Regions from separate parts of the Homo sapiens genome. Here all the other regions are linked to region 1. Evidence: promoter capture Hi-C in 16 types of primary human blood cells and fetal thymus (Javierre and others, 2016). All regions are on one chromosome and are shown on one strand. The core of a region is centred on a gene start or on the middle of the fragment in contact, and the rest is flanking DNA. Distances in the headings are between cores, read along the strand shown.

The links. Contacts are between HindIII fragments. The CHiCAGO score rates a contact against its expected background, and 5 or more counts as called.
Region 2: a fragment that was not itself captured here is called in contact with the fragment with the promoter of GTF3C6 in region 1 in 4 of 17 cell types (megakaryocytes, neutrophils, M1 macrophages and 1 more); the score reaches 8.3 in megakaryocytes.
Region 3: a fragment that was not itself captured here is called in contact with the fragment with the promoter of GTF3C6 in region 1 in 1 of 17 cell types (megakaryocytes); the score reaches 6.4 in megakaryocytes.
Region 4: a fragment that was not itself captured here is called in contact with the fragment with the promoter of GTF3C6 in region 1 in 1 of 17 cell types (megakaryocytes); the score reaches 5.6 in megakaryocytes.

What each region holds. Positions count from the first base shown.
Region 1 is chr6:110,956,774-110,960,379 of GRCh38, forward strand. GTF3C6 (general transcription factor IIIC subunit 6) reads left to right here and starts at 1,933. Exons shown (of 6, transcript NM_138408.4): 1 at 1,933-2,053; 2 at 2,399-2,479. The coding sequence starts at 1,997. RefSeq lists an enhancer at 1,806-2,255. The HindIII fragment of the contact is 8,604 bases long and covers 275-3,606 here.
Region 2 is chr6:110,725,751-110,729,356 of GRCh38, forward strand. All of the region lies in intron 2 of CDK19 (cyclin dependent kinase 19), which reads right to left. Among named protein-coding and RNA genes, the nearest start is that of CDK19, 88 kb to the right of the region's middle. The HindIII fragment of the contact is 5,536 bases long and covers 1-3,606 here.
Region 3 is chr6:110,746,585-110,750,190 of GRCh38, forward strand. All of the region lies in intron 1 of CDK19 (cyclin dependent kinase 19), which reads right to left. Among named protein-coding and RNA genes, the nearest start is that of CDK19, 67 kb to the right of the region's middle. The HindIII fragment of the contact is 264 bases long and covers 1,477-1,740 here.
Region 4 is chr6:110,817,252-110,820,857 of GRCh38, forward strand. It overlaps a transcript of AMD1 not described here. Among named protein-coding and RNA genes, the nearest start is that of CDK19, 3.6 kb to the left of the region's middle. The HindIII fragment of the contact is 1,400 bases long and covers 949-2,348 here.

The sequences.
Region 1 (3,606 bases), core at 683-3,182:
TTCACGCCATTCTCCTGCCTCAGCCTCCGGAGTAGCTGGGACTACAGGTGCACACCACCATGCCCAGCTAATTTTTTTGTGTTTTTAGTAGGGACAGGGTTTCATCGTGTTAGCCAGAATGGTCTCAATCTCCTGACCTTGTGATCCGCCCGCCTCAGCATCCTAAAGTGCTGGGATTACAGGCTTGAGACACCGCACCCGGTGTTAAGTATAATTATTTTCATCCTCATATAATAAATAAGAAAACTGAGGTTGGAAAACTTCACAATTATTAAGCTTCAGAGCTAGAATTGAAATGTACTTCTAACAGGTCCAGTGTTCCTTCTACTTTTTTAAGCTATGAAATCCTATACATTTAATTAGGCAACTGGACAAAAATATACACAAAAGAGTGTTATTTACAATATCCACAAATTGTAAATAACCTATGTGTTAAAAAATAGAGGATCAAGTTATGGCACACTCATACAACCATTATGTAAAGACAGGCGCTGTGGCGTGCACCTGTAGTCCCAGTTACTCAGGAAGCAGAGGTAGGAGGCTCCCTTTGAGCCCAGGAGTTTGAGGGTACAGGGAGCTACGATGGCGCCACTGCACTCCAGGCTGGGCGACAGAGCCAGACCCTGTCACAAAAAAGAAAGGAAAGAAAGAGAGAAAGAAAGAAACAAACAATGAATAAAAGAAAGAGAGAAAGAGCATCATACTAAAAAATTTATATATTACTACTAATAATAGATTAAATGCACTTTAAATGCTTACTATGTGCTGAATACTGGGCTAAATTTATTTTATATGTATTGTCTCATTTAATCCTCACAACCACCAATCTGCCCAAAGCCTTGCTGTTAATAATGCAGCAGAACTTGACTGGTATTAAAATCCAAAGCTCAGGCTGGGGACGGTGGCTCACACCTGTAATCCCAGCATTTTGGGAGGCCCAGGCAGGGGGATCGCCTGAGGTCGGGAGTTCGAGACCAGCCTGACCAACATGGAGAAACCCCGTCTCTACTAAAAATAACAGAATTCGCCGGGCGTGGTGGCGCATGCCTATAATCCCAGCTACTCGGGAGGCTGAGGCAGGAGAATCGCTTGAACCCGGGAGGTGGAGGCTGCAGTGAGCCGAGATTGCACCATTGCACTCCAGCCTGGGTAACAAGAGCAAAACTCCATCTCCAAATAAATAAATAAATAAAAATCCAAAACTCACGATCTTAACCACTAGATCACGCTATCGCAAGTACGAAGACCGTTTCTTTCACAATCACAAACATCTATGGGATACTTCTGAAAATTCTGTTCAAACTTCTCTTGCCCAGGTCTCTGTGTTCCTATAACAATGTGTATCTCTTACAGCACTTGCTTGGATCCATTTATGTACCTCTCACAGATCTTATGCTCCTGCAGGCCTGAAACTTAAGCCCACTTTCTATTTTTCATAGCTCCTGGTGCAGTGCTTTTTACTGTGTAGGCGCTCATTAGTATTAAACTGAATGTGCCTTTAACTTGGCTTGGGGTACGTTGAATTGAGGATGAGCGCTCACACAATATTAAGAATTTCTTTCCAAGAAATGTGCTCGGGTCAAACACAAGGCCTTTCTGTCCATGATCCGCCTGAAACCATGGTTTCCTTGTTTTCGCCTTTATCCCTTCTGCCTTGCCAGTCCTCCCCGCCAGCGGGGCCGAGAGCCCGGCGACTCTTGCGTGACCGAGCGGGCTCCGCTGCCTACGGCAGCCCACCCCCAGCCCCTGCTCTGAGGCACCGAGAAACGAGGAGGCCCGTGGCGAGTCTCCACGTGGGTACCGGCGCTCTCGGCGCCCGTAGCCACCCGCCCGCCGGAAGCCGACATCTCGAGTTCTGGCAGAAGCAATTTGCGCGGCGAGGAGCGGAGCGGCAGGAACCCAATAAGCTGCTTCGCCTCGGAGCTGAAGCCCGTACTCAAGATGGCGGCTCCGGGCGGGCGTGGCCAGTGACTAGAAGGCGAGGCGCCGCGGGACCATGGCGGCGGCGGCGGACGAGCGGAGTCCAGAGGACGGAGAAGACGAGGAAGAGGAGGTAGTAAGCGCTACGCCAAAAGCCTGCACCGCAGTGGCGGTGATGCCTGTGCTGGCTGTGTGTGGGGAAGGGAGTTGGGGAGCTGCGGGCCGGAGGGAGGCCCCACTGCTCCTCACCGGCTTCTTGCTCCTGGGCGCGAGGAGCCGGGCAGCTTGGGACCTTAGCCCTAATCGTCACCCCGTACTTGGGATGGGAAGTACCGGGAAGTTACCTTAGGTAGCGTAGTTTCCTCTTGCTGAAAACAGGGTCCGGTTTTCACAAATGTGGGAAATTTGGCTTCTTTTGCTAATTGCTCCCTCTTGGCCGCTCGCGTGCTAGCATGTTAACCCCTCTTTCTTTCACCAGGAGCAGTTGGTTCTGGTGGAATTATCAGGAATTATTGATTCAGACTTCCTCTCAAAATGTGAAAATAAATGCAAGGTTTTGGTGAGTTTTCTAGACTTGGGGGGATTGTTCTAGAGTGTCTTAAATGTAAAACAAGAATCAATGGTGAAATACCTATCCGCAAGTATTGATATATTTATTTCACCTTACAAAGTAGTGAACTCTAAGGATAAGAAGTATACTAAGTATAATTAATTAATATGTAATTAAGTATAATGTAGAAGTACAGCGGGGACTATGGGAGCAGATAGGAGAAAATGGCTAACTTTGCTTGCCTGTTTGAATGTGTGGCTGAAGAGAAAGTTACAGATTTGGAGGAAGTAACATTGTGATATGGAACCGTACATATATTCCTGTATTCTCAGCACTTTGGGAGGCAGAGGTGGGAGGATCACTTGAGCCCAGGAATTGGAGACCATCCTAGGCAACATAACGAGACCCCTTCTCTAAAATAATAATAAAAAAAAATGGCCAGGCGCGGTGGCTCACGCCTGTAATCCCAATACTGGGAGGCCGAGGCGGGTAGATCACGAGCCCAGGAGTTCGAGACCAGCCTGGCCAACATGGTGTAACCCCGTCTCTACTGAAATACAAAAATTAGCCAGGCATGGTGGTGGGCGCCTGTAATCCCAGCTACTCGGGAGGCCGAGACAGGAGAATCGCGTGATCCCTGGAGGCAGAGGTTGCAGTGAGCCGAGATCGCGCCACTGTACTCCAGCCTGGGCAACAAAGGGCAAAACTCCATCTCAATAAAAAAAAAAAATAATAATAATAATAAATTAGCTGGGGATGGTGGCATGCGCCTGTGGTCCCTGCTGCTCAGGAGGCTGAGGTGGGAGGATTGCCTGAACATGATCATGCCACTGCATTCCAGCCTGGGTGACAGAGCTAGACACTGTCTCAAAAAATAAATAGATGACAGATAGACTCTTTGCACTACTGTTGACAAAACTTCCTCTGTTTTTAGCTTACTCTTGAACAGGATGTTGATTGAAATAAACCTTGTTACTTGAGTATGAATTAAGTAGTCTTCAGGTTGTAACTGCTGTGATCAGAGCAGTTGTAGTTTATCCTGTACTTGGTAGGACAAGATGCTCTAGAGGTTCCCCAGTTTTGGAGATTAGTTTCCTTGGTAGCAAGGTTACAATGTTGAAGCCTTTTTCTAATTA
Region 2 (3,606 bases), core at 440-2,939, 230 kb before region 1:
TAAGTTTTTTATTTAAATTGTTCAAGTCTAATTATGAGAGGGGAAATGTTGACTTAATACAAATTCAAAGATAAACTTTTACATAAGCAAGATAGGAAACACACTTTATTTACATCAAAGTGTAAAATCCTTTGTTACATTCTGCTTAACAATGCTTCTAAAAGAAATAAACAGTTATGTTCTATGGGCTTGATTTTATAAATAAACTCTTTCAGAAAGCATTTCTTTTTTTTTCAATCCAACTTGTAAAACACGCCATGTTTTCCATAAGAAACTAGTAGGGTGTTGCTATGGGAACAACATTTTAATACCATTTTTAAAACACCAGTAGCTTCAAAGAACAATAAGGTAAAGAAAAATGAAAGGAAACTATCTTATCTGATTGGGAAAAAAAGATAATCCTAGTATTTCATGATGCAACTGTTATAATCATGTTATAATCATGCAGCAAAAGCATTTCACATACTTTTTCTGTAGATGGGAAGGAAAGTATTAGGGAATACTTTAGGAGATAATTAGCAAAGGTAAATTAATGCAAGCATTTTGAGTAAGAATAAACAGATGTTACCAGGTCCTTGTCCCAGAAAATCAGAAAGGAAAGGACACTGATGTGTGTTGAAACTCTGAAACACTATCTCTATTCATAGTCCTAGAAAGCCATCTGAATCAAATATAAGTGTTCTTTCAACTCAAGCCTAAAGAAAATGGGGGGATTATTAAGTAATAATTGATATACAAGTAATGCCTGAAAAGGTTCCATTTAGAAAATGGCCCCAGTTATAGATACCTAAGTGAATAGGGTGGGGAGGGATCTTAAATCTTAATTAATTTAGAAAAATATTTTGAACTAGTGGTTTGGACTTATAATTTTATCTGTTAACAAAAAAACTATATTTTTGTTAATAGCAAACAAAACCACAATTGAGTGGGAAAGATAGATCACTACACACTTCCAAAAATGAACCTGGCCTACAGAGAGCTGGGCTTTTTAGACTCCAGACTTTACAAAGGTGCTGGAAAAAAGTCCACTGATTGCAGTCATTTTGCTACAGAGCAAAAAATATTTACTTCTAAGTTCTGAAGAGTAACATGGAATATATGGAAGGATTAATAATAATACTTTGCATTTTCATAATCCCATAAAGTCTACAAGGTACTCTCGTATAAATTAAATCACATGCCATTTTTCCTCTAAGATAATCAAGCTGGAAAGAACAACTATTATTCAGTGGCACATCTTCATAACATTCTGTCAGAGAATAATATTTATAGTTTTATTATAGGTCAACAATAGAATACTGGGTTTCAATAATATGAACTTTTCAATAAGTAGGAAAGACAGAGACATAAGACAGAATTAGGTTATATAAGACCATTTCTCATGAGATATATGAAAACACATTATAAAAGTCAAATTATTACATACAAAAGATTCTTGGTTGAGCTATGATGAATACTAAATTGCTCTATAACTAGTAACTAACCACCCAGACCCTCGCCATACCCCTTTCACTAACTACCTATTTTTCCATTTACTGTTAGAGTGCTTTTCCCTCCCTCCCACACTACTAATCCTTTAAAGCCCATCTTAAGTATTTCCTTATCTTTGAAACTTTGAGATCATCATGTCCAAAGTGGCCTCACTCCACTTACTGTACCTACTCTTTCAGAATGCCTTCAATCACAGTCTTGTAGTATTAATTATATTCAAAAATGTGTCTTATCTTCTGGACCAGCATATAAGGTTCATGATGGAAAGAAGCATGTCATATATTGCTCTTGTATAATCCTCTTCATTACTGAGATCATAATTGTCTCTTCCTCCTCTTAAATGTTTCAATGGACTCTCAAACTCAAGATGTCTTTTTTAAAAGAAAATCTCTGTCTGCCCTCTCCATCTTAGTTCTCTTCTAGAATTCCTCTCTCAAGAAGAGCGACTGGGCCAGGTGCAGGAGCTGACACCTGTAATCCCAGCACTTTGGAAGGCCAAGGCAGGCAGACTGCTTGAGCCCGGAAGTTTGAGACCAACCTGGGCAACATACCGAGACCTCATCTCTACTAAAAAAAAAAGAAAGAAAGAAAGAAAATTAGCCAGGCATAGTGGTAAATCCCTATTGTCCCAGCCCAGCTACTCAGGAAACTGAAGAGGATCATTGGAGGCCAGAAAATCGAGGCTGCAAAGCACTATTATCCTGCCACTGCACTGCAGCCTGGGCAACTGAGCAAGACCCTGTCTCAAAAAAAAAAAAAATGAGAAAGGCCAGGCATGGTGGCTCACACCTGTAATCCCAGCACTTTGGGAGGCCAAGGTGGGGGATCACGAGGTCGGGAGTTCAAGACCAGCCTGAGCAACATGGTGAAACCCTGTCTCTACTAAAAATACAAAAATTAGCCGGGCATGGTGGCGTGCACCTGTAATCCTAGCTACTCAGGAGGCTAAGGCAGCAGAATTGCTTGAACCTGGGAAGCGGAGGTTGCAGTGAGCTGAGATTGCACCACTGCACTCCAGCCTGGGTGACAGAGCAAGACTCCATCTCAAAAAAAAAAAAAAAAGAGAGAGAGAGAAAGAGCACATGCTATCTATTAGAAGTCAAATTAGCTGCCAAAGCCAGAAAAAACGGAAATCTTTGCCACCTCTCTCCCTTGCTGCCTATATCCAATTCATCAATTTCTACCCATCTGCCCTCAGGAAAAATCTCTAAGTTTTTTTCCACTTCTGTCTATCTTCCCTAGTCTGATTGCTGCAGAGGTTTTCTAACTACTCTCCCTACATCTTCTCCTCTATCTTTACTCTCATCTATTGATACCATAGTCAGAGTGGTAAAAAAAAAAAAACTAATTTGACTGTGTCATTTCCCTGCTAAAACCCAAGATCATTAACACAGCCCACACAGCTGCATGTGACCTGGCCCTGTTAGGGGGTCTTCCCCTCTCAGGTCACTTTCATCCTCACTCATCACTTCAGGCACACCAGCATCTCCTATACTCTCAAATGTGGCATGCTGCGTCATGCTTATACACAATGTTCCCTCTACTCTGCCTAATGAGCTCCCACTCATCCTTCAAATCTCTGCACAAATGTTACTTTCTTGGGGAAATCCTCCTTGATGCCCTAAAGTTAGATAATCTTTCTCTTGTTATCCTGCCATGATACTAGCTTTTCCTTAGCTCTTATCATCTTGTGTGAATATTCGTGTGAATATTTGTTCATTAACAATCTCTTCTGAAAGACAGTGCCTAGCACATAGAATAGGCAATGTATACCTCCTGAATGATTAATAATAATAGTCTAATATTTAATGAACCCTATATGCCAGGCACTATGTTAAGTGCTTTCCACAGATAAATAATTATTATTCTCCCTATTTTTACAGGTGAAAAGAGATTAGTAATTTATACAAGATCACAGACCTAGTAAGTAAAAGAGCTAGGACAGGAACCTAAATCTGTCAGGTACTAAACCCATGCTTTTTACCGTTAACTGAATTTGCTCCCCCAAACCATTGCTTGTAGAACTAAATAAATATATGTTGATTATTTAAAATGTCTACCTTCTATTGGACAAGAGGTTACTGAAAAAAACTGTGTACTCATACTATGATAAAT
Region 3 (3,606 bases), core at 359-2,858, 210 kb before region 1:
ACTGACAGACATAAACTCCCAGATTCATTTAAAGTAATTTCATAGTATAAGAAGCTTTATAGGAATCATAACCCACTAAAACACACTGTATCTCACCTAGCATGGGGACATTCAAAAGCCCGAGGACCTCAATCAAAAGCCTTTTAAAGATTTCAAAGCTCTAGCCACCAACATGTCATTCTCAGGAACACTAGGAGAAACCCAGTAGTTAAAGTGGATTTTTCAAACAATGGACATAGTATTAGGAATCCTGGGAAATCCCAACAGTTACTAAGTTGCTTAACCAAGAGAATACAGCAGTTCAAAATCTGGTGAAACATTCTGTTAAAATATTAACAGTATGAGATAAGCAGCTAGTACAATACAGTAAGTACAGTAAGCATTCTCAAGGGTGCTGATACCAGAACCAGCCACACAAAGGTCTCAGCTGAATGTCATAACTATAGTTCATATTGTGAGCTGTTCTTATAAGAGAAGTTAAATCCATGCCTTCCAAGTTTTGTCTTTTGATCATATTAGAGCCTCAGCAAAGTATCACCATGTCATGATGTTTTTGTCAAATATAGCGCCAAAGTAGTGCCACATCTGTCTTAGCTATTCCTCATTTTCCCCATTCTATGTTTACCTGCAGATAGAGCAGTTTAGGATGTTATTCAAAATCCACATTTTAAAACACCATTTTAAATCCCTTTTGAAGATTTTCACAATCATCTTCAAGCAAATAATTGAGTTATGGTTACTTTCCCTCACAATGAGTTTGAAAATTATATCCATTTTTCTTCCAACAGATAGCATTCAGGAAATAATTAAACAGTATTTTGACAAATAAAACATACTAGGTATGTCAACAAGATGGACTATGATGCAATTTTTTAAATGATGGCTAGAAGGTCATTAGAAACATGGAAAATATTTACCATATACTACTGAGAAAATACACAAATTATACTATATAAAAATATACATCTACAAATATGTTGAAGGCAATACAAAAAATTAACAGTTACGTTAAGATATAGGAAGTTATGTCAACTAACTTTAGTGCTAATATTATATTGCCTTTAAAAAGCCAAAATAAATTGATACTCTGAGAATACCTACTAAAACAATCTTTAGTATTTTCAAAGTGATAGCTCAGGCATGTTTTAAAAAGCAAAGTCAAAAATAAGGAAAGTTTAAATGATCATTTTTTCCTTTTTCTCCATCCTGTTTTTTGCCCAGACATAAAACCAGACTTTTTCAGACCACTCAGAAGCCATTAAGAAGCATAAACTGCAGGTGATTGAATGTAATCAAAGCCAAGTGTCCCTCCTGTGCCTTAAATGTATTTGTGGGTACAGAGTGAGAGCACATGTGCCTGAGAAGCTCAACACAATGCTTACGATGTAAATTTTATACATTTAATAATTAAGTTATCTATCAGGTATCTATTGCTAAATATTTAAGTTTGATGTATTCTTGAAACAAAATTATAAAAGCTTTCTAAAAAATTTTTCACATGAAACTATAATTTTTTCAACAGAAACATTTCAATCCTCAGTTCCCCTAGACAAAGTAGTCCAGAAGCTCATGTAATTGCATAGTTTTATTTTTAATACTGTAAAGAATATTACACAATCTGGATAGGTTATAGTTGCTATGGAAACTATAAGATCTTTGCAGTAAGTCAAAAAGTGCAAAATTAACACATCAAATTAATGGCTTTTGAATTTCACATCCAGGCTGTCAAAGGAATTTGAAAGCTTGAACAGAAGAGACTGAGCATAGGCCTTTTACTCTAAATTATGTGGACAGGAACAAGGAACAAACCCAGTAATTATTTCACTTAATAAGTTTAAATATAACTTCCACCTGCTAAAATAAAATACTAAAAAATTTGCAATTTTAAGATTTATTTGCAACATTTAAATTGAGAATGAAAGAAAGTACATATATCATTACTATTTCTCTTTGTAAACTAACTGTCAGATGGTAAGTGATGATGCAGCATCTCTAAGGTTCACCATATGAAGAAGTTGCAAGGTCCCAGAGGGCATATGGGACTTCTTGGCACTGTACTACGTGAATGCCAATCTTTGGGCATATGCCAACACCTTAGTCTGAAGACAAAACATGCATCCTTTAACACAACGTCTAGAAATATTTCAATGATTAGGCACATGAGACAGGGAAGCTTTATTGCTCTCATCCCACGTGAGTGCCCCTCTCCAGGAGTTCCTCCAAGTAGAGGAATTCATACCTCACAGCTTAGATGTTTCAGGCACATGTAATATTAAATATCATAAAAGAACAATTTTTTATTTTACATGACAAAGCTGAAAAGCAGGTGAACCTGCCTAGCCTACACTGCTATGATAATCCAGCTTTTAGAGGCAGCTTAGTTCCTCCTTAAAACTATTTCATTTCCAAATTACTTTTATTTCTAAATAACATAAAGATAGACAAAGCAATTCCAAAGCCTTCAGAGAAACTGTTTTCTACATTTTCGTGTATATTAGATAGTATGATTAGAGCAACTGCATATTGAAATTAATCAGAGGAATTTACTAAATGCATCCAGAAGAATTAAAAATACATGTATTTGTACTATAAACATGGATAAATGCTATATAGAATTTTTAAATATCAAGATGTTTCTTCTATATGTCTATAACATGTAGCAACACCATGAAAACTTCACTCTCAGCAGTCACAATGAAAAACAATTGTTTGATGTGAACATTACGTAACAAAATAGAACAAATAAATTTGACACAGACCAATTCTATTAGGTCTTCCATCTGAGACACTATGTTCCTTTTTTTTTTGAGACAAATGTGTCCCCCAAGTACAGTAGCACGATCTGGGCTCACTGCAGTGTCAACTTCATGGGCTCAGATGATCCTCCCACTTCACCCTCCCAAGTAGCTGGGACTGCAGGCACATACCACACACCCAGGTAATTTTTGTATTTTTTGTAAAGATGGGGTTTCGCCATATTGGCCAGGCTGGTCTCGAACTCCTGAACTCAAGTGATCCGCCCACCTCAGCCTCCCAAAGTTCTAGGATTACAGGCCTGTACCACCGCGCCCTCCTGGCTCTGGAAAATTTTTGATGCAAACAATTCTATAGAGAGTAGAAAATATAAAAAGCACACATCTGTGCAAAAAACAGAAATCATTATTTTGCCTCATCATATGAATGACCACACTATTTTTTTTTTTTTTGAGACAGAGTCTTGCTCTGTTGCTCAGGCTGGAGTGCAGTGGCATGATCTCAGTTCAGTGCAACCTCCGCCTCCCAGGTTCAAGCATTCTTCTGCATCAGCCTCCAGAGTAGCTGGGACTACAGGTGCCCGCCACCACACCCAGATAATTTTTGTATTTTTAGTAGAGATGGGGTTTCACCATGTTGGCCAGGCTGGTCTCGAACTCCTGACCTGGTGATCCGCCCGCCTTGGCCTCCCAAAGTGCTGGGATTATAGGCGTGAGCCACTGCGCCCAGCCAAATGATCACACCATTAACCAAAGAAATGATGACATGACCTAAATGAAGACCTGGAAACCTAAGATTTTATCCTAAAAGCAATGAAAATTACATATGAAGGTTAATCTTATTAGAGAGGAC
Region 4 (3,606 bases), core at 399-2,898, 140 kb before region 1:
TGGGAGGGGGAATGATTTACCTTATTTGCTACATCACCCACTCCTGGAAAACTTCCTTAGACCTTGAGTCTCTTCAGGCTGGGTGCAGTGGCTCACACCTGTAATCCCAGCACTTTGGGAGGCCAAGGCGGGTGGATCACGAGGTCTGGAGTTCAAGACCAGCCTGGCCAAGACAGTGAAACCCTGCCTCTTATTAAAAATGCAAAAATTAGCCAGGTGTGGTAGCATGTGTCTGTAGTCCCATTTACTCGGGAGGCTGAGGCAGGAGAATCCCTTGAACCCGGGAGGCAGAAGTTGCAGTGAGCTGAGACCATGCCACTGCACTCCAGCCTGGGCAACAGAGCAAGACCCCGACTCAAAAAAAAATGGTATCTTTAATCAAGAAAAATCTCAGTTGCTCTTGTTGCCATGCACTATAATAACTGCTGGAGATAGCAGGAAAAAAATTAGTCTTTTTCCATTGGGGAATTAAACCTGAAAAAACAAATATGCAAGCAAATTAAAAATAAACTGTGGTTTAAAAGAGCACTGGTAGAATAGGCGGGGTTCTAAGTGAGTCAGGGTAGACTTCATGAAGTAGGTAGGTTTGAGCCAAATTTTTTTTTCACTCCAGCCCCATCTGCTGAGTGAGAGCCAAAATTTAAAGCATGAGTAAGCCTTTACTTGAAGGACAAGTCGAAGAGCAAGAAACAAGGAATTATTTCAGGTAGAACAGCATGTACATAAATCATGAGAGAACATCATATATTCTGAGAAATGCAACTAGTTTGAATATTACAGATTAAGACAGGAAAAAGTAATGGATAAGAAAATACTAAACAGATAAGCAGAGGTCAAATTATGAAAAGCTATTTATGTCAGGGAGAGGTTTTAGGTTTCATTATTCTGTCGACCTAAAAGGAAAAAGCTGGGGCAAAATTAATATAAGTAGAGAGTTTATTTGAGCCAAGCTTTAGAATTGCAACCCAGGAGTATAGATACAAGTTGCCCTGAATGTACACTCCAATCAGGAGCAGTTGCAAGTAGATTTTTAAAGGCAAAAAAAGGGGGATAGGAAGTGGGCTCAAAGTTGTTTGTGAGGAATTCTCATTGGTTTACAGGAATAACATTGATTAATGAATGAGCTATACATTGTTAAGATATAGGGTGTGGGTTATAGCATCTGGTGCAGCATTATTGGATTAATTTGTAGCTACTTGTGGCAATAGCAAGCATTTCAGGAGATGAATACATAGCTCAAGGGGAAAGTATCACCTGATTCCAGTATCTTATTTATATATATATTTATTTATTTATTTATTTATTTTGAGACAGAGTCTTGCTCTGTCACCCAGGCTGGAATGCTGTGGCGCGATCTCACCTCACTGCAGTCTCTGCCTCCTGGGTTCTAGTGATTCTCCTGTCTCAGCCTCCTGTGTAGCTGGGATTACAGGCATGTGCCACCAAGCCCAACTAATTGTATTTTTAGTAGAGACAGGGTTTTGCCATGTTGGCCAGGCTGGTCTTGAACTCCTGGCATCAAGTGATCCGCCCACCTTGGCCTCCCAAAGTGTTGGGATTATAGGCGCGAGCCTAATTCCTGTATTATTTTAATGTCTCTCTGTGCCTTATAATTTAAAAGGCCTCACATTCCTCAAATGAAAGTTTTTTTCTTTTCTCAATTCTGTAGGCAATAGGAAGCTATTACACACTTTTGAGCTAAGGAGAACTATAATCAGCCCTGAGTATTAAGCAAATTCTCTGACAAAAGTGTTCAGGTTCAATTGGAGGAAGGTGAGACTAGCAAAGAAGCTATTGCAATAGGACGGTAAAAACAACGATCTGGGCCGGGTGCAGTGGCTCATGGCTGTAATCCCACCACTTTGGGAGGCCGAGGTGGGCGGATCACCTCAGTCCAGGAGTTTGAGACCAGCCTAATCAACACGGAGAAACCCCGTCTCTACTACAAATACAAAATGAGCCGGGCGTGGTGGCGCATGCCTGTAATCCCAGCTACTCAGGAGGCTGAGGCAGGAGAATCACTTGAACCTGGGAGGCAGAGGTTGCAGTGAGCCAAGATTGCACCATTGCACTCCAGCCTGGGCAACAAGATCGAAACTCTGTTTCAAAACAAACTAACAAACAAAAAACAAGGATCTGAACCACGGAAGAGCAGCACTATAAGAAAAAAGCACATACTATAATTATTTAGGAGTAAAATTTAACAAGACTTAGTAATTAATTAAATGTGGGACTAAAGGAGAGGGAAGAATCCAAGATAACTTTGAGAATTTTGACTTCAGCAATATGGTAGAAATTTCAGAAAGTTAGGAAACACAGGAATGGGAGCAATTTTTGAGAGAAAGATAAGCTTGGTTGGGGCATGTCGAATTGGAAGTACCTATGGGGGCATCAAGATAGAAATAACTGTCAGGCATTTGAACCACAGTGACTCCATCTTGAATAGGGTAGAATAAGGCTGAGACCTGCTGTGCTGCATTCCCAGGAAGCTAGGTGTTTTTAGTCACATGGTGAAATAGGAAGCCTGCACAAGATACAGATCATAAAGACTCCACTGATAAGATGCAGTAAAGAAGCTAGACAAAACCCACCAAAACCAGGATGGTGACCTCTGGTCTACTCACTGACCCCTGGTCTCCTTGTTGCCCATTATATGTTAGTTATAATGCATTAGCATGCATTATAGGAGACATCCTACCAGTGCCATGACAGTTTACAAATGCCATAGCAACTTGAGAAGTTACCCTATAGAGTCTAAAAAGGGGAGAAGCCCTCAATTCTGGGAAATCCCCATGTCTTTCCCAGAAAACTTGTGAATAATCCACCCCTTGTTTATCATGTAACCAAGAAATAACTGTAAGTATACTCAGTGGAGCAGCCCATATCTCTGCTCTGCCTATGGAGTAGCCATTCTTTTGTTTACTTCTCCAGTAAACTTGCTTTCACTTTACTCTATGGACGCACCCCAAATTCTTTCTTTCTTTCTTTCTTTTTTTTTTTTTGAGATGGACTTTTGCTCTTGTTGCCCAGGCTGGAGCGCAATGGTGCGATCTTGGCTCACCACGACCTCCACCTCCCAGGTTCAAGCGATTCTCCTGCCTCAGCCTCCCAGGTAGCTGGGATTATAGGCATGCACTCGCATGCCCGCCTAATTTTGTATTTTCAGTAGAGATGGGGTTTCTCCATGTTCATCAGGCTGGTCTCCAACTCCCGACCTCCAGGTGAGCTGCCTGCCTTGGCCTCCCAAAGTGCTGGGATTACAGGCATGAGCTACCACACCCGGCTGGTAGTAAATCGTTTTTAGGGGAAATGAGTGGGCCCAATGCTCACAAAATGGTTAGTAAATGATTATCATTAGAAACTAAATGGGCCAAGCGTGGTGGCTGATGCCTGTAATCCCAGCACTTTGGGAGGCCAAGGTGGGCAGATCACTTGAAGTCAAGAGCTGGAGACCAGCCTGGCCAGCACGGTGAAACCCCCATCTTTACTAAAAATACAAAAATTAGCAGGGCATGGTGGTGCATGCCTATAATCCCAGCTACTTGGGAGGCTGAGGCAGGAGAATCACTTGAACCCGGGAGGCAGAGGTTACAGTTAGCTGAGATC